3 separate regions of the Homo sapiens genome follow, and regions 1 and 3 are each linked to region 2. Evidence: promoter capture Hi-C in 16 types of primary human blood cells and fetal thymus (Javierre and others, 2016). All regions are on one chromosome and are shown on one strand. Each heading gives the region's core, a stretch centred on a gene start or on the middle of the fragment in contact. The rest is flanking DNA. Distances are from core to core; before and after follow the strand shown.

The links. Contacts are between HindIII fragments. The CHiCAGO score rates a contact against its expected background, and 5 or more counts as called.
Region 1: a contact is called between a fragment that was not itself captured here and the fragment with the promoter of CD4 in region 2, in 1 of 17 cell types (naive CD4 T cells). The highest score is 5.9, in naive CD4 T cells.
Region 3: a contact is called between a fragment that was not itself captured here and the fragment with the promoter of CD4 in region 2, in 4 of 17 cell types (activated CD4 T cells, total CD4 T cells, non-activated CD4 T cells and 1 more). The highest score is 7.3, in activated CD4 T cells.

The regions. Positions count from the first base shown.
Region 1 is chr12:6,487,252-6,491,985 of GRCh38, reverse strand. It overlaps MRPL51 (mitochondrial ribosomal protein L51), which reads left to right. Exons shown (of 3, transcript NM_016497.4): 3 at 1-100. Among named protein-coding and RNA genes, the nearest start is that of MRPL51, 3.6 kb to the left of the region's middle. The HindIII fragment of the contact is 7,598 bases long and covers 1-4,734 here.
Region 2 is chr12:6,787,707-6,792,072 of GRCh38, reverse strand. CD4 (CD4 molecule) reads right to left here and starts at 2,545. Exons shown (of 10, transcript NM_000616.5): 1 at 2,411-2,545. RefSeq lists enhancers at 2,639-2,688, 2,504-3,061. The HindIII fragment of the contact is 6,468 bases long and covers 1-4,366 here.
Region 3 is chr12:6,458,360-6,463,101 of GRCh38, reverse strand. It overlaps TAPBPL (TAP binding protein like), which reads right to left. Exons shown (of 7, transcript NM_018009.5): 5 at 4,155-4,457; 6 at 2,164-2,247; 7 at 786-1,068. The coding sequence ends at 953. VAMP1 (vesicle associated membrane protein 1) reads left to right here. Exons shown (of 5, transcript NM_014231.5): 5 at 1-865. Among named protein-coding and RNA genes, the nearest start is that of TAPBPL, 8.7 kb to the right of the region's middle. The HindIII fragment of the contact is 2,094 bases long and covers 1,568-3,661 here.

The DNA.
Region 1 (4,734 bases), core at 2,008-4,507, 300 kb after region 2:
GAATGTTATTGGCGCTTTTTGACATAATGCTGTTATGTTAATAGTGTTTCTAAAGAGCCTTCCACACTGAAATGAAATATAAGAGAAAAATGGAGTCATACTTCTGTACTACTCTCATAAAATATTTATTAGGCATATTCTCTGAGTAGGAACTATAGGAAAAACAAAAAAGTGTGAGGTGTCCTTTCCATTTAAATATGAAACATTAAGTACCATATGAATGGTAGAGATGGCGGATACTAAGCCTGACTGGTCATCAGTTTTCTGGGTGTTTTAACATTTCAAAAGCCTAGTCCTAACCCCTAAAGATTGATCAGTAGAGCTGAGTTGAGTCTAGGGCATCTATGTGTTTTGTTCTTTTTTAATAATAATTTTTAAGAATTACAGCTGGGCAGAATGGTGCCCACATGTAATCCCAGCATTTTGGGAGGCTGAGGTGGGAGGATTGCTTGGAGACAGGAATTTGAGACTGGTCTGGGCGACATGGTGAAACTCCGTCTCTACTAAAAATAAAGTGGCTGGGTGCGGTGGCTCCTGCCTGTAATCCCAGCACCTTGGGAGGCGGAGGGGGGCGGACCACGAGCTCAGGAGATCGAGACTATCCTGGCTAACACAGCCCTGTCTCTACTGAAAATACAAAAACAAACAAACAAAAAAATTAGCCAGGAGTGGTGGCGGACACCTGTAGTCCCAGCTACTCAGGTGTCTGAGGCAGGAGAATCACTTGAACCTGGGAGGTGGAGCTTGCAGTGAGCCGAGATCGTGCCACTGCACTCCAGCCTGAGCAACAGAGCAAGACTCTGTCTCAAAAAAAAAAAAAAAACAACTTAGCTGGGCATGGTTCTGCATGCCTGTAGTTCCAGCTACTCATGGTTCTGCGTGCCTGCAGTCCCAGCTACACAAGAGGCTGAGGTGGGAAGATCACCTGAGCCCAGGAGTTTGAGGCTGCAGTGAGCTGAGATCATGCCACTGCATTCCAGCCTGAGCAACTGGGGTGAGACTGTCTCAAAAAAAAAAAAAAAAAAAAAGTGAAGTTAGGGCTGGGTGCAGTGGCTCACACCTGTAAGCCCAACACTTTGGGAGGCCAAGGCATGAGGATTGCTTGAAGCCAGGAGTTCAAGACCAGCCTGGGCAACATAGCAAGACCCCATCTCTATATTTTAAAAAACAAAAACTCCATAAAAGTGAAGTTAGATTAATAAATACTTGTTGCGGGGCATGGTGGTTGGAGCACACTTATAATCCCAGCTACTCTGCAGGCTGAGGTGGGAGGATCCTTTGAAACCAGGAGTTGGAGGCCAGCCTTAGGAACATAGCAAGACCCCATCTTCAATAAAAATAAAAAGCACTTGTTAAATTACAAGTGGGTTTTGGATAAATGGATTGATGGGTATATATGAAAACATGATCCTGGGTCTTACGGAAATGTTTAGGAGAGTCAGTTTTCAGAGGGGTGGCTGGAAGGAGCTATGCATAAGAATGGAGAAGTTGATGTGAAATGTGAGTGGCTGTATACTTTACATGATTTGGTGGTGCTAGAGTGGAGAAAATAAAATATTTGGGACTCTGCTAAGTGCAAGGTGCCCTGAAGAAGATATCTACATATCCTGGTAGAGTATCTGATTGTTAGGGAAGAGGAAATTAATAGGTCAATAGGCATTTATAGAATATTTCCTGATTCAAAGATACAAAAGGTTTTGTTTTCAAGGACAGAACAATCTTGTTTGTGGTATGAAACAGTATATAACGTTTTCTTTGAATAAATATTGAATTATTATGTGCAAAGATATTTGGAGGAACAAAAATCACCAAGGTAGGGTTGGTTCCTACCTCTAAGTAGTCTTCATTCTACTTAAAAGATGTCCGGTGGCTCACACCTGTAATCCCAGCACTTTGGAAGGCCTAGGTGGGCGGATCACGAGGTCAGGAGATCAAGACCATCCTGGCCAACATGGTGAAACCTCGTCTGTACTAAAAATACAAAAAAATTAGCCAGGTATAGTGGTGTGTGCCTGTAATCCCAGCTACTCGGGAGGCTGAGGCAGGAGAATCGCTTGAATCCGGGAGACAGAGAGGTTGCAGTGAGCTGAGATTGCACCATGCACTTCAGCCTGGGCAACAGAGGGAGACTCTGTCTTTAAAAAAAGAAAAAAAAAAAAAAAAAGACGTCTGAAGGATGTAAAGTTACAAGATGGTGGACCAATGTGATACTCTGCAGAATGTGCAAATGGTCCACATTTTTTAGATTACATCATGACAGAGAACAGAATTAACATAGCCCTGATGAAAGACCATGACTGTATACTGTTGTTCATCCCCTCCGTGGTGGACTGCTTCTGACCAACATGCTTTAGAAAAGAATGTTGGTTGGGCATGCTGGCTCAGGCCTGTAATCCCAGCACTTTGGGGGGCCAAGGTGGGCGGATCACCTGAGGTCAGGAGTTCGAGACCAGCCTGACCAACATGGAGAAACCCTGACTACTAAAAATACAAAATTAGCTGGGCCTGGTGGCACATGCCTGTAATCCCACCTACTCAGGAGGCTGAGGCAGGAGAATCGCTTGAACTCGGGAGGTGGAGGTTGCAGTGAGCCAAGATCGTGCCATTGTACTCCAGCCTGGGCACCAAGAGCGAAACTCTGTCTCAAAGGAAAAAAACAAAAAAGAAAAGGATGTTCGCCAGGTGCAGTGGCTCACACCTGTAATCCCAACACTTTGGGAGGTTGAGGCGAGAGGATCAGCTGAGCCCAGGAATTCGAGATCAGCCTGGGCAACATGGTGAAATGCTGTCTCCACAAAAAAAAAAAAAAAAAATTAGCCAGGCGTTGGTGGCATGTGCCTGTAGTCCCAGCTGCTGTGGAGGCTGGGTGGAAGGATTGCTTGAGCCTTGGGGGTCGAGGCTGCAGTGAGCTGAGCTTGTGACACTGCACTTCAGCCTAGGCAACAAAGCAAGACCCTGTCTCAAAAGAAAAAGAAAAAGAAAAAAGAAAAACAATGTATTTGCTAAATCAGTGGTCACAAACCACAAATGTGAGGCTATGTTAATCTGCTCCAATAAAGATATCCCATCCAGCAGACAATTAGCACTGGGATTCCCACTTGGTTAAATTGGCAGCAGCTTCATCCAGTTTATACAGGGGTAAGACTGGAAAAAAGAAAAAAAGAAGAGATGTGTATGTAAACAAAATGTAAATTTAAATATGATAATGAAAGCGAGTCCCATGACAGGTTTTTTTTTTCTTTTTTTTTTTTGCTGAGGGGGATGATCAGAAAAGGTATTTGTTGAAAAGATGGCATTAGAATGAGCTCTTGAGGCCAGGAGCAGTGGCTCATGCTTGTAATCCCAGCACTTTGGGAGGCCGAGGTGAGCAGATCACTTGAGGTCAGGAGTTCAAGACCAGCTTGGCCAAAGTGGTGAAACCCCATCTCTACTAAAAAAATACAAAAAACAAATTAGCTGGGCATGATGGCACATGCCTGTAATTCCAGCTACTCAGGAGGCTGAGGGGGGAGGATGGCTTGAGCCCAGCAGGTGGAGGTGGCAGTGAGCTGAGATCAGGCCACTACATTCTAGCCTGGGCAACATAGCAAGATCCTGCCTTTAAAAAAAAAAAAAAGGAAAAAAGAATTCCACCCAGTGCAAGAGGCAGATGAAGAAGCATAGTTATGAAATCCAGTATGTCATGACATTTAAAGTTTGTTAATAGCTATGTGTATAGGTGTGGAGAGGAAGAGACACCTATCTTTTCCTGAGGAAGCAGGAATGGGGACGAGAAGGGCTTTAGAGAAGAGGTGACCACTGAGTTGTCTTAAGGGAGTGGAGGCTAGCAGTTTTTCCAGGCAGTTGAAGCAGAAATAAAGGCCTAGAGTCAAGAAACAGCATGGTGTGCATGAGAAAGCTATGAGTGGTATTTACTGGTGGAGCTACTGCTTGTGGTAAAAGACAGGGAAAGAGATGGGAAGCAAGAGTCAGATCCTGAAGATTGTAATGATTATTAAAATTTAGCCTTTAGGGGGCCGGGCGCGGTGGCTCACGCCTGTAATCCCAGCACTTTGGGAGGCTGAGACAGGCAGATCACGAGGTCAGGAGATCGAGACCATCCTGGCTAACACGGTGAAACCCCATCTGTACTAAAAATACAAAAAATTAGCCTGGCATGGTGGCGGGCACCTGTAGTCCCAGCTACTTGGGAGGCTGAGGCGCGAGAATGGCGTGAACCCAGGAGGCGGAGTTTGCAGTGAGCTGAGATCGCACCACCGCACTCCAGCCTGGGCGACAGAGTGAGACTCCATCTCAAAAAAAAAAATTTAGCCTTTAGTAAAATGGTGCAGCCACTTTGGAAAAGTGGCAGTTCCACAAAAAGTTAAGTGTAGAGTTACTGCATGACCCAGTAATTCCACTCCTAGGTTTATACCCAAGAAAACTGAAAACATATGTCCACACAAACACTTGTACATAAATCTCCTTAGCAACATTATTCATAATAGCTAAAAAGAAGAAACAATCCAAATATCCGTCAGCTGGTGAATGGATACACAAAATGTGGTCTATCCATACAATAGAATATGGAATATTATTATTATTATTATTTGAGACAGAGTCTCGCTCTGTCGCCCAGGCTGGAGTGCAGTGGCCCGATCTCGGCTCACTGCGAGCTCCGCCTCCCAGGTTCACACCATTCTCCTGCCTTAGCCTCCTGAATAGCTGGGACTACAGGCACCTGCCACCACGCCC
Region 2 (4,366 bases), core at 1,296-3,795:
GGAACTCTTGTGGTTGGTGGCTGCAACCTCCGCCATCCTCTTCTTCGCCTCAGACACCCACATCGGGGGAACCGTGCCCACCCTCCTTCCCTCATCCCCTCAAAGGTACAGAACAGAGCTCAAACTCAGAGCCTTGCAAACCCAGACCCCTGCCCACCTACTTCTGATTCCCCACCTTCATCAAAGTTATTTTGAGACAGGGCCTCACTCTCGCCCAGGCTGGAGTGCAGTGGCACAGTCAGGCCTCACTGCAGCCTCCGTCTCCCAGGCTCAAGCAATCCTCCCACCTCAGCTTCCCAAGTAGCTGGAACCACAGGCACACACTACCATGCCCAGCTAACTTTTGTGGGGTTTGTAGAGATGGGGGTTTCACCATGTTGCCCAGGCTGGTCTCAAACTCCCAGGTTCAAGCCATCCTCCTGCCTCGGCCTCTCAAAGGGCTGGGATTACTGGTGTGGGCCACCACGCCCGGCCCATCACAGGTATTTCATTCAACAAACATTTATTGAGTGTCTAAAATGTGCAAGACTGGCCCAGTATGGTGGCTCACGTCTGTAATGCCAGCACTTTGGGAGGCCAAGGCGGGCGGATCATTTGAGGCCAGGAGTTTGAGGCCAGCCTGTCCAACATAGTGAAACCTGGTCTCTACTAAAAATACAAAAAGTAGCCGGGCGTGGTGTTGGGCTCCTGTAATCCCAGCTACTCAAGAGGCTGAGGCAGGAGAATCGCTTGAACCCAGGAGGTGGAGGCTGCAGTGAGTGGAGATCACGTCATTGCACTCCAGCCTGGGCAAGAGAGCGAGACTCCGTCTCAAAAATAATAATAAAAAATAAAACGTGCAAGACAATTGGTCTAGCCAATTGCCCTCAGCACCACCCCGCCATTACGGCCAGGGTCAGAGCCTAGGGCTGCCCCCAAGCTCTGTCTAGCACCAGTGGTGGGAGGAGTTTTTATCTAGATATAGACCTCTCCTATGTAAGTGCTCCCACATTGAAAGAGGGAAATCATCTCCCGAGTGTCTCTAACGCTGTCCTCAGGGGCTCTTTCATCTGACTTTGAGGGCGGCGGCCATTTTGTATCAGCCTACAGCATCTGATACAGCACAAGGAATTATTGGTCAAAATGTGAAGTAGCAGTGACTTCCCCCATCAGGCCCTGCTCTTAGCCTTGCCCCGATAAAAATGTCCACCACAAGAGCAGGGCATTCAGGAAGCACTATCCCACTCAGAGTGAAATCTTTGAATTATTGAGAACAGGGCCTTTCCGTTTTGAGGGATCAGAACGTACCCCAGGAAACCTCTCTCCCAGAAGAAGCCTATGAGGGGAAAGCAGAGGACACTGGGGATAGCACGGCTTCAAGGCCATGAGGTCTCAGGGGCTGGAAAGGTCTGAGGGCGGAAAGGCTGAGATGGCACAGGGCTTCCCTTCAGGAGGGACAGTGAGTCCTCACTCTCCCTCACACCCTGCCAGGCCCAGGAGGGGCTGCACATCCTTCTGTAACTCTCCCGGCCTCATGAGACCCCTACCACCAATTCTTTTCGAATCCGTTTCTTAAATGACATATTTATCTAAAGATATGTATCTGCAACTTTTAGGGCAATTCATACGCAAAAGCTCAGTTTCAACACTTTCTGAGAATTTTAGCTTTCCTATTTCATGAATCATTTTAAAGCTAACTAGAGTAGAAGTGCCTTTAGACATTGTTCAAAAATCTTAAAAGAGCAAAGAAGCAGACAAAAATTTAAAAATACACACAGAAACACAAAAGGTAGTTAAAAGAGACTATTACATAGATCATGCGACTTATGAAATGCTGCAAGTATGATATTTGGTGTCAATTTTTGGAGATTGTCCCGTTAAGGAAAATTGGTTTTGCAAGAATTTTCTCTAGACTAGATTCCACTTCTTTTGCTCTTTTTCTTGTTTTTATGTTTTTCCTCATCATTTCTTTTTTATAGGTTTCCTCCCACCTTATATTTATTTATTCTTTCTAATTTTTTCCCTCCCCTTCTTCACTCTTTTTCTCCTCTTTTCCCCTCTTCCAGTCTTCTCCCCTCAACTGCCCACGACTAGTTGCCTTCCACGCCTTTCCCAGCCTGGGATAGTCTCCAGTCTTCACTCCCTCTCTGATCTTGCTATTTAGGTCACTACTCCTCTAAGGAGCACCCATTGCTCTGGACACTGAGCTGTGCACGCTGGGGCTGCAGAGAGGAGTCTAGCACAGTCTCTGACCTCTGGAAGCTCACAGTTCCAGTGGGAAATCGCTGCTCATGACCAGTTCCAAGAGAAATGCAAGAGAAGGTGGCCAGAGCTGTGGGCAGACAACTGGGCAGAGCACATTCCTGTGCATCTGCCCCACGTTCCCCTCCCTCTCAGCTCCGGGGAAGGAAGCCGAGTCTGACCACCTTACCTCTGGGCTTGCGTCTTTCTTGCCCGCTGCTTCTCAAACAGGCGTATCTGTGTGAGGACTTGGAGCTCTGCAACCAGGAGCCCAGTGGGGAGGGTGCTTTGTTCCTTCTGCAGAGTCGTGCTTAAATGAAGAGAGACAGGAAGCCCGATGGCAAGGCTCCTCCACACCCTAGGCCTGGGCCGGCCCCAAACGTCACCAGCTGGAGCTGGGTTCCCCACCCCCCAGGCTCTCAGGGAACATGTCAAAGTGAAAATGCCAAAGTCAAGGGAAAAAGTTAAGCAGAATCAGGCTTAAATCAGGAGTCAAACTGTCACTGCCACTGTTAAGCGGCAAGAAAAAGATGGCAAGAAAGATTCCATTAGTGGTAGCGCCATGTCTGACCAGGCTGTGGGGAAAGAAGTGGGAGGCAGTTGGGGGCATATGGGAACAGCAGTGGTAAGCCCACAAACAGCTCCTTGCTCTGGGGCCCTGAGGGCATGTGTCCAGTGGGTGCCCCAGGGGTATCTGTGGAGGCTTTATAGGTGGCCCAGTGTGGAAGAGAGGGCGTGGGCTGAGCAGAGAATATCTGAGACACCAGGAGTGACTGTTAACCAGGCTCTGTTCCTCTAGGCGTCTCTGGCCAGGCCTCAGGTGCTTTCCTCTAGCCCGAATCTACCATGAACTCTCTATGTGAGTATCCGTCTGCCCATTGGACATCTCCACTGGGAAGCTCACCGGACATAGCAAACTCAACACACATCCCCAACTATGCATACCACCTGCATACTACCACCCTCCAAACCTGCTTCTCCAGGCTTCTCACTCAGTGAGGGGCTCACCATCCACCAACTTGCCCAAGCAAAATAAATTGGGTGTAATCTTTGACACCCCCTTCACCCAACTTCTCCCACGTATTTATTTACCAGTTCCTGTGGATGTTACCTTCTAAATGGCTCCAAAATCTACCCAAGTCACTCTGCACTACCACTACTGCCACCATGCCAATCCAAGATGCCAATATCATCCCTTGCTCGGACAACAGCTCCTGCCTCCTCACTGGTCGCCATTCTCCATACCACAGCCCAAGTGATCATTTAAAGATGCACATGTGAGTGTGCGTTTTCCAGTCTGAAAAAAGTGGGGCTGGGAGTGGTGGCTCATGCCTATAATCCCAGCATTTTAGGAGGCCGAGGTGGGGGGATCGCTTGAGCCCAGGAAGTTGAGGCTGCAGTGAACCGTGATTGCACCACTGCACTCTAGCCTGAGTGACAGAGTGAGAACCTGTCTTGAAAAGAAGAAAAGAAAAGAAAAGAAAAGAAAACTCTAGTTCAGCTTGCGACTCCAACAATTAACACAAGTACCCCTATTTGACAGCATTGTACTTCATCTGTAGCATATAGTACTGTGTGCTACTTCTCATTTCATGACACACCGTACTCAAGGGTTGAGATTTAATAAAATTAGTATTTACTGCTTCATTAAAGGCATTCTATATATATATATATATATATTTTTTTTTTTTTTTTTTTTTGAGAGGGAGTCTCACTCTGTTGCCCAGGCTAGAGTGCAGTGGCGTGATCTTGGCTCACTGCAACCTCTGCCTCCCGGGTTCAAGCAATTCTCCTGCCTCAGCCTCCCAAGTAGCTGGGGCTACAGGCATGCGCCACAATGCCCAGCTAATTTTTGTATCTTTAGTAGAGATGGGGTTTCACCATGTTGCCCAGGATGGTCTTGATCTCTCTTTTTTTTTTTTTTTTTTTTGAGACAGAGTCTTGCTTTGTCATCCAGGCTGAAGTGCAGCAGCATGATTTCGGCTTACTACAACCTCCGCCTCCTGGATTCAAGCCATTCTCCTGCCTCAGCCTCCCGAGTAGCTGGGATTACAGGCACCCGCCAACATGCCTGGCTAATTTTTGTATTTTTGTAGAGACAGGGTTTCACTCGTTGGCCAGGCTGGTCTTGAACTCCTGACCTCAG
Region 3 (4,742 bases), core at 1,365-3,864, 330 kb after region 2:
GGGCAATTGCTGAGCTTCAGGATGGGCTATTAATGTGGGATAAGCCCAGGTGCAAGGGGAGGAGGGCAGGCTGGGAACAGAGCGGAGAATGCCCATGGCCCTTTATTCCTTCTTCCCTCGGTCCACGAACAGGAAGAGGCTGAGGCCATGCTGGGCAGGGTCTGGATGCCCACTTTCCATGCAGCAGCATTTCATTGCTCAAAACCATCCTTCCTTTCCTTTCGCCCTTGTTTCCCACATTCCCTTCGTCCTGCCCAAGGGCGGGACTGAAGAGCTGGAAGAAAGCAGTCAGTACCCTCCCAACGGCCCCCCTCGAAGGTCTCCACTCTCCTCTGGGCTCCTCCTTGCCTAATGCAGGGGGTCACCGCTGGAGAAGAACCACCACTGTCCTCGATGTGTCCCAAGCCTGGAGCGAATCCGTCCTCTTGGCTCTCCCAGCCCTATCACAGGAATCATTCCTGGGTTTCTGTCCCTCTGAGGCTCACCAGGTGTAGTTGGCCTTGTTCTTTGGGGGTATTAGCCCTTCTACTTTCTTTCTCACCCACCCTGTACCCTCTTCTGTGTGTCTCTGCTATCCCCCTTTCCTCCCACCACCCATGTGCATGAGCAAATGTGCAACAAAACCCTGGGACTTTGCAGTCAAATGAAGCTGAGCTTCCCACATCCCGTTCTTCGGTTTGCCATGAGACGATGTGGGGTTTCCACTGTGTGTCTGTCATCACCTCTTTGTCTTTTTTTCCTAACCCTGATCTCATACTTGTATAGAGTAATAACAACAGTTGTACTTCCACCAAAGGCATGTGGCATATTTACCAATGTCATGTATTCTGAACAAAGGCAAAAAATACAAATTCCTACCATTAAACTGGCTTGGTTGTTGTTTGGGTTGGAGTAGCTGTGGGGGCTTGGGGAAGGGTGTCGTTTCTTTCTAGTAGTCTCATGTCGCTTTAGGTCAGCTGGGCTGGCTTACACGCGCTGTGCGGTCTTCATGGAGATGGGAGCTCTGTGTGTCAGCACAGGAAGTGGTCTCCCAGCGTTCAGCCTGAAGCAGCCCAAGTCCTGTAGGTGCTGGTAAGAGGAAGTGAAGACAGGAAGTTGCGTGGGCATCTCACACTGGCAAACAAGCACAGGTTCCCTCAGGCCTCTTCCATCTGCCTCCTGTGCTCCTTCCTAGGTCCTTGGCCTGCTTGTCCTGTCCCAGGGGATGTGCCCAGATAAGGCTGTCAGTGAACACCCCCTTACCCCCTTTTCCCCATCATCCTCACGTACAGTTTTGGTATGCTGAGTTCCACCGTATTGATTAGGCACATTTTAGAAACGAATAAAAAGGAGAAGTCTCTCCTTGCAGCTGAGGGAGTGAGGCATTTGCAGGTATCCTGAACCTCCCAGCAGTCACCCGAGGGAGCAGAACCCTAATTGCAGCTGAGGTGCAACTGAGATGGAGCCACGGGGGTGCCTCTGAGGGCCTTTGTTTCATACTTAAACACTTTGCAAGTTGGAGCCGCTAGGCTTGGTGACAGGGCTCAGTTGGGACCAGTGTGGAGAAAGACAGGAAAGTGGAAAAGCTTGGTCGCAGCAGACACAAGGGCCTTTTATTTTGACAGAGCTGAGTTTGGGAGGGGTAGCCCAGCCCCAACCCATGCCTCATTGTCCCTCACTTGTTCCTTCTCCATTTCCTCCAGCTTTGTTTTCCTACCGTCACACCACCAACCTGGCTCTTTGGTCTTATCCTCCATCTGGACATTCTGCCTTCTTCTTGTCCCCTCACTTCTTCCTGTTCTCTGCCTTGGTGCATGAGCCCAGGGTGCACAGTGAAGGAAGGCAGAGGCCTCTGCAGAGCCAGGCCCAGTGCCCCATGAGCTGGTGCCACCTTCATGTATTTTTAGCTCTGTGACTTGACTTAGAGTCCTTCTGGGAGCACGTGACTACTCTTTCTTTCTACTCTGAGGCAGGAGAGTGACAGACTTTAGTGAGGTAGCTAGGAGAAAACGAGGGAACACGACTGGTTTCATTTTCATTTAGGGCAAACTCAAAAGCAGGAGGCTGTGATGGGTGGGTGGCTGGAGCTTGGGGCATCTGGGCTTCCACCCTGGTCTGGGCGGGGGGGTGGTTAGAGTGGGTGAGGTGGGCCAGGGCCAGAGCCAAGGGCACCCAGGCTCTTACCTTGCCGTCTCTGAAGCCCCAGGAACATCAGTGCAAGAAGGAAGAGACTGCTGGCAAAGATGACTCCCAAGGCTGTTCTCCGCTCTGTAGGTGAGAGCAACGTGGGCGGGGATCATCGTGCGCAGGAATCATGAGCTGAGCCCTCACCTGCAGTGTCCACCCCAGGGAGGAGGAGCTAAGGATTGTGTGTGTGAGTCCCTGGTTGAGGAGCCTGGAACAAGGCACTCAGCAGCATTTGTTCTTATTCAAGGTTGCTGGATACTTGTGAGTTACTCCACACAGAATTCTCTACCTCTTCCCACCTAAGGACAAGGTTTTAAAAATTGCTTTGCAAGTGAGATTTAGGTGGGTTTATTTGTTAGCACTTAACTTGCCTGGACACAGTGGCTCATGCCTGTAATCCCAGAACTTTGGGAGGCTGAGGTAGGTGGATCACCTGAGGTCAGGAGTTCGAGACCAGCCTGGGCAACATGGTGAAACCCTGTCTGTACAAAAAATACAAAAAATTAACTGGGCATGTTGGTGTGCGCCTGTGGTCCCAGGTACTTGGGAGGCTGAGGTGGGAGAATCACTTGAGCCTGGGAGGCAGAGTTTGCAGTGAGCTGAGATCGTGCCACTGCACTCCAGCCTGGGCGACAGAGTGAGACCCTATCTCAAAACAAAACAAAATAAAACAAAGCAAAACAAAAAACCACCAGTTAACTGGGATTTTGTAAATAGTTGGGGAATGATGTGAGCTGAAGTGAAACCTCAGTTTTGGGGAAGTTCACAGTCTAATGAGCAACCAAATAATGCCCAGTGCTCCTGGATGTTTCCACTTCAAGTTGCGGGTTCTTTCCTGTCCCTTTCCTGCTTAAAACCTCTCGACAGGCAGGGTGCGGTGGCTCATATCTGTAATCCCAGCACTTTGGGAAGCCGAGGCGGACAGATCACCTGAGGTCAGGAGTTTGAGACCAGCCTGGCCATCATGGCGAAACCCCATCTCTACTAAAAACGCAAAATTAGCCAGGCGTGGTGGTGCGCGCCTGTAATCCCAGCTACTTGGGAGGCTGAGGCAAGAGGATGGCTTGAACCCAGGATATGGAGGTTGCAGTGAGCTGAGATCATACCACTGCACTCCAGCCTGGGGAACAGAGCAAGATTCTGTATCGAAAAAAAGTAAAATAAAATAAAATAAATAAATAAATAAATAAATAAATAAATAAATAAATAAAACCTTTCAACAGCATGCTATGGCTCTCAGGAAGTTCCAGCTTGAAGGCCCAGTGAGATCTACAGGGTTTAATTAAGCCCGTAAGGGGAATCCGGTTGCCTGTTTTTCACATTCTCTCTTTACCATTGATTGATAGGTGACCTTGGGCAAATTCATTGACATCTGCAAGTGCCAGTTTACTCACCTGTAAAATGGGAGTCATGATCCATGAAATCATACATTTAAGTGCTTTCTACACTGCTTGATTCATGTAAATGCTCAATAAATAGAATTACCTCCGAAGCTTCAGAGCCACTTTCCCTTTTTCCCATATACCCTAAGCTCTAGCTGTGCTGAATTACTTGCAATTCTCCAAATTCTCTTTAGGCTGTTTTATGATTTGGCTTTCATATATGCTATTGTTTCTATCTTGAGTGTTCCCTTCCCTCTAAGCTAGTTAACTTGGCTCAAATGCCATCTTCTCTGTCTACTTAGTCTTGTCTCTATTACTGGACTAAGCTCCTGGAGGGCATGATCAGGAATTATTCATCTGTGATCTCCAGCCTTAAGCACATTGCCTGACACCCTGGAGGCTGGAGTATAATGAAGTCTCAGGGGATGTGTGGTAGAAGCTGTGGCAGCTGCCGCCTTGGGAAAATAGTCAGGAGCAGAGGCAGGAGCATGAAGCCAGGGCTGCGAACAAAGTGGATGGGCAGCAGAACAAGGCCATAGATGAGCTGGGGCAGGAGAGCCATGAGCCCTAGTGTGGAGGTGGGGAAAAGGAGGACACTCCCAGTACCTGGTGGGACAACCTGGGTGCTGGCCCCAAGGGGCTCCTCCAGAGAGATGTGTGTGACCTGGCAGGTGTAAGTGGCACCTGCAGAGCCAGGTTCTGCGGTGAGAGAGGAGGAGATGCTGTAGGTGCCTGCCACGCTTTGCCTGAGGCTGGAGAAGGAGGCACCAGAGACTTGGGCTGGGGATCCACCCAGCTCCTCTCGGGTCCACGTCACCACCACATCCAGAGGGTAATAGCCAGCAATGTCGCAGATGAGGGTGGGCAGCAGAGCTTCGTTTGCCAAGCTCAGTCGTACTTTAGGGGAAGCTGGAGAAAGAATGAGGAATAAGATTACACATGGATCTAACTGGGGACAGCGGAGGAGCCTGAAGCCTTTTCTTCCTGCCAAGATGAGAGTAGATTGTGGAGGCTACAGTGTCCCTTGGTGGTGTACCAAGGCGGGGGTGTGTGAGGGGCCCACCTGGATGCAGGCCGTAAGGGGGCAGGGTTACATTTTCCAGAAAACAGATAGTAAAGCCAACTAAAGATTGGCTGGCTTCTTACTGTCATTCTAAGCCAGTTTTTTTTTTTTTTTTAAGATGGTGTCTTGCT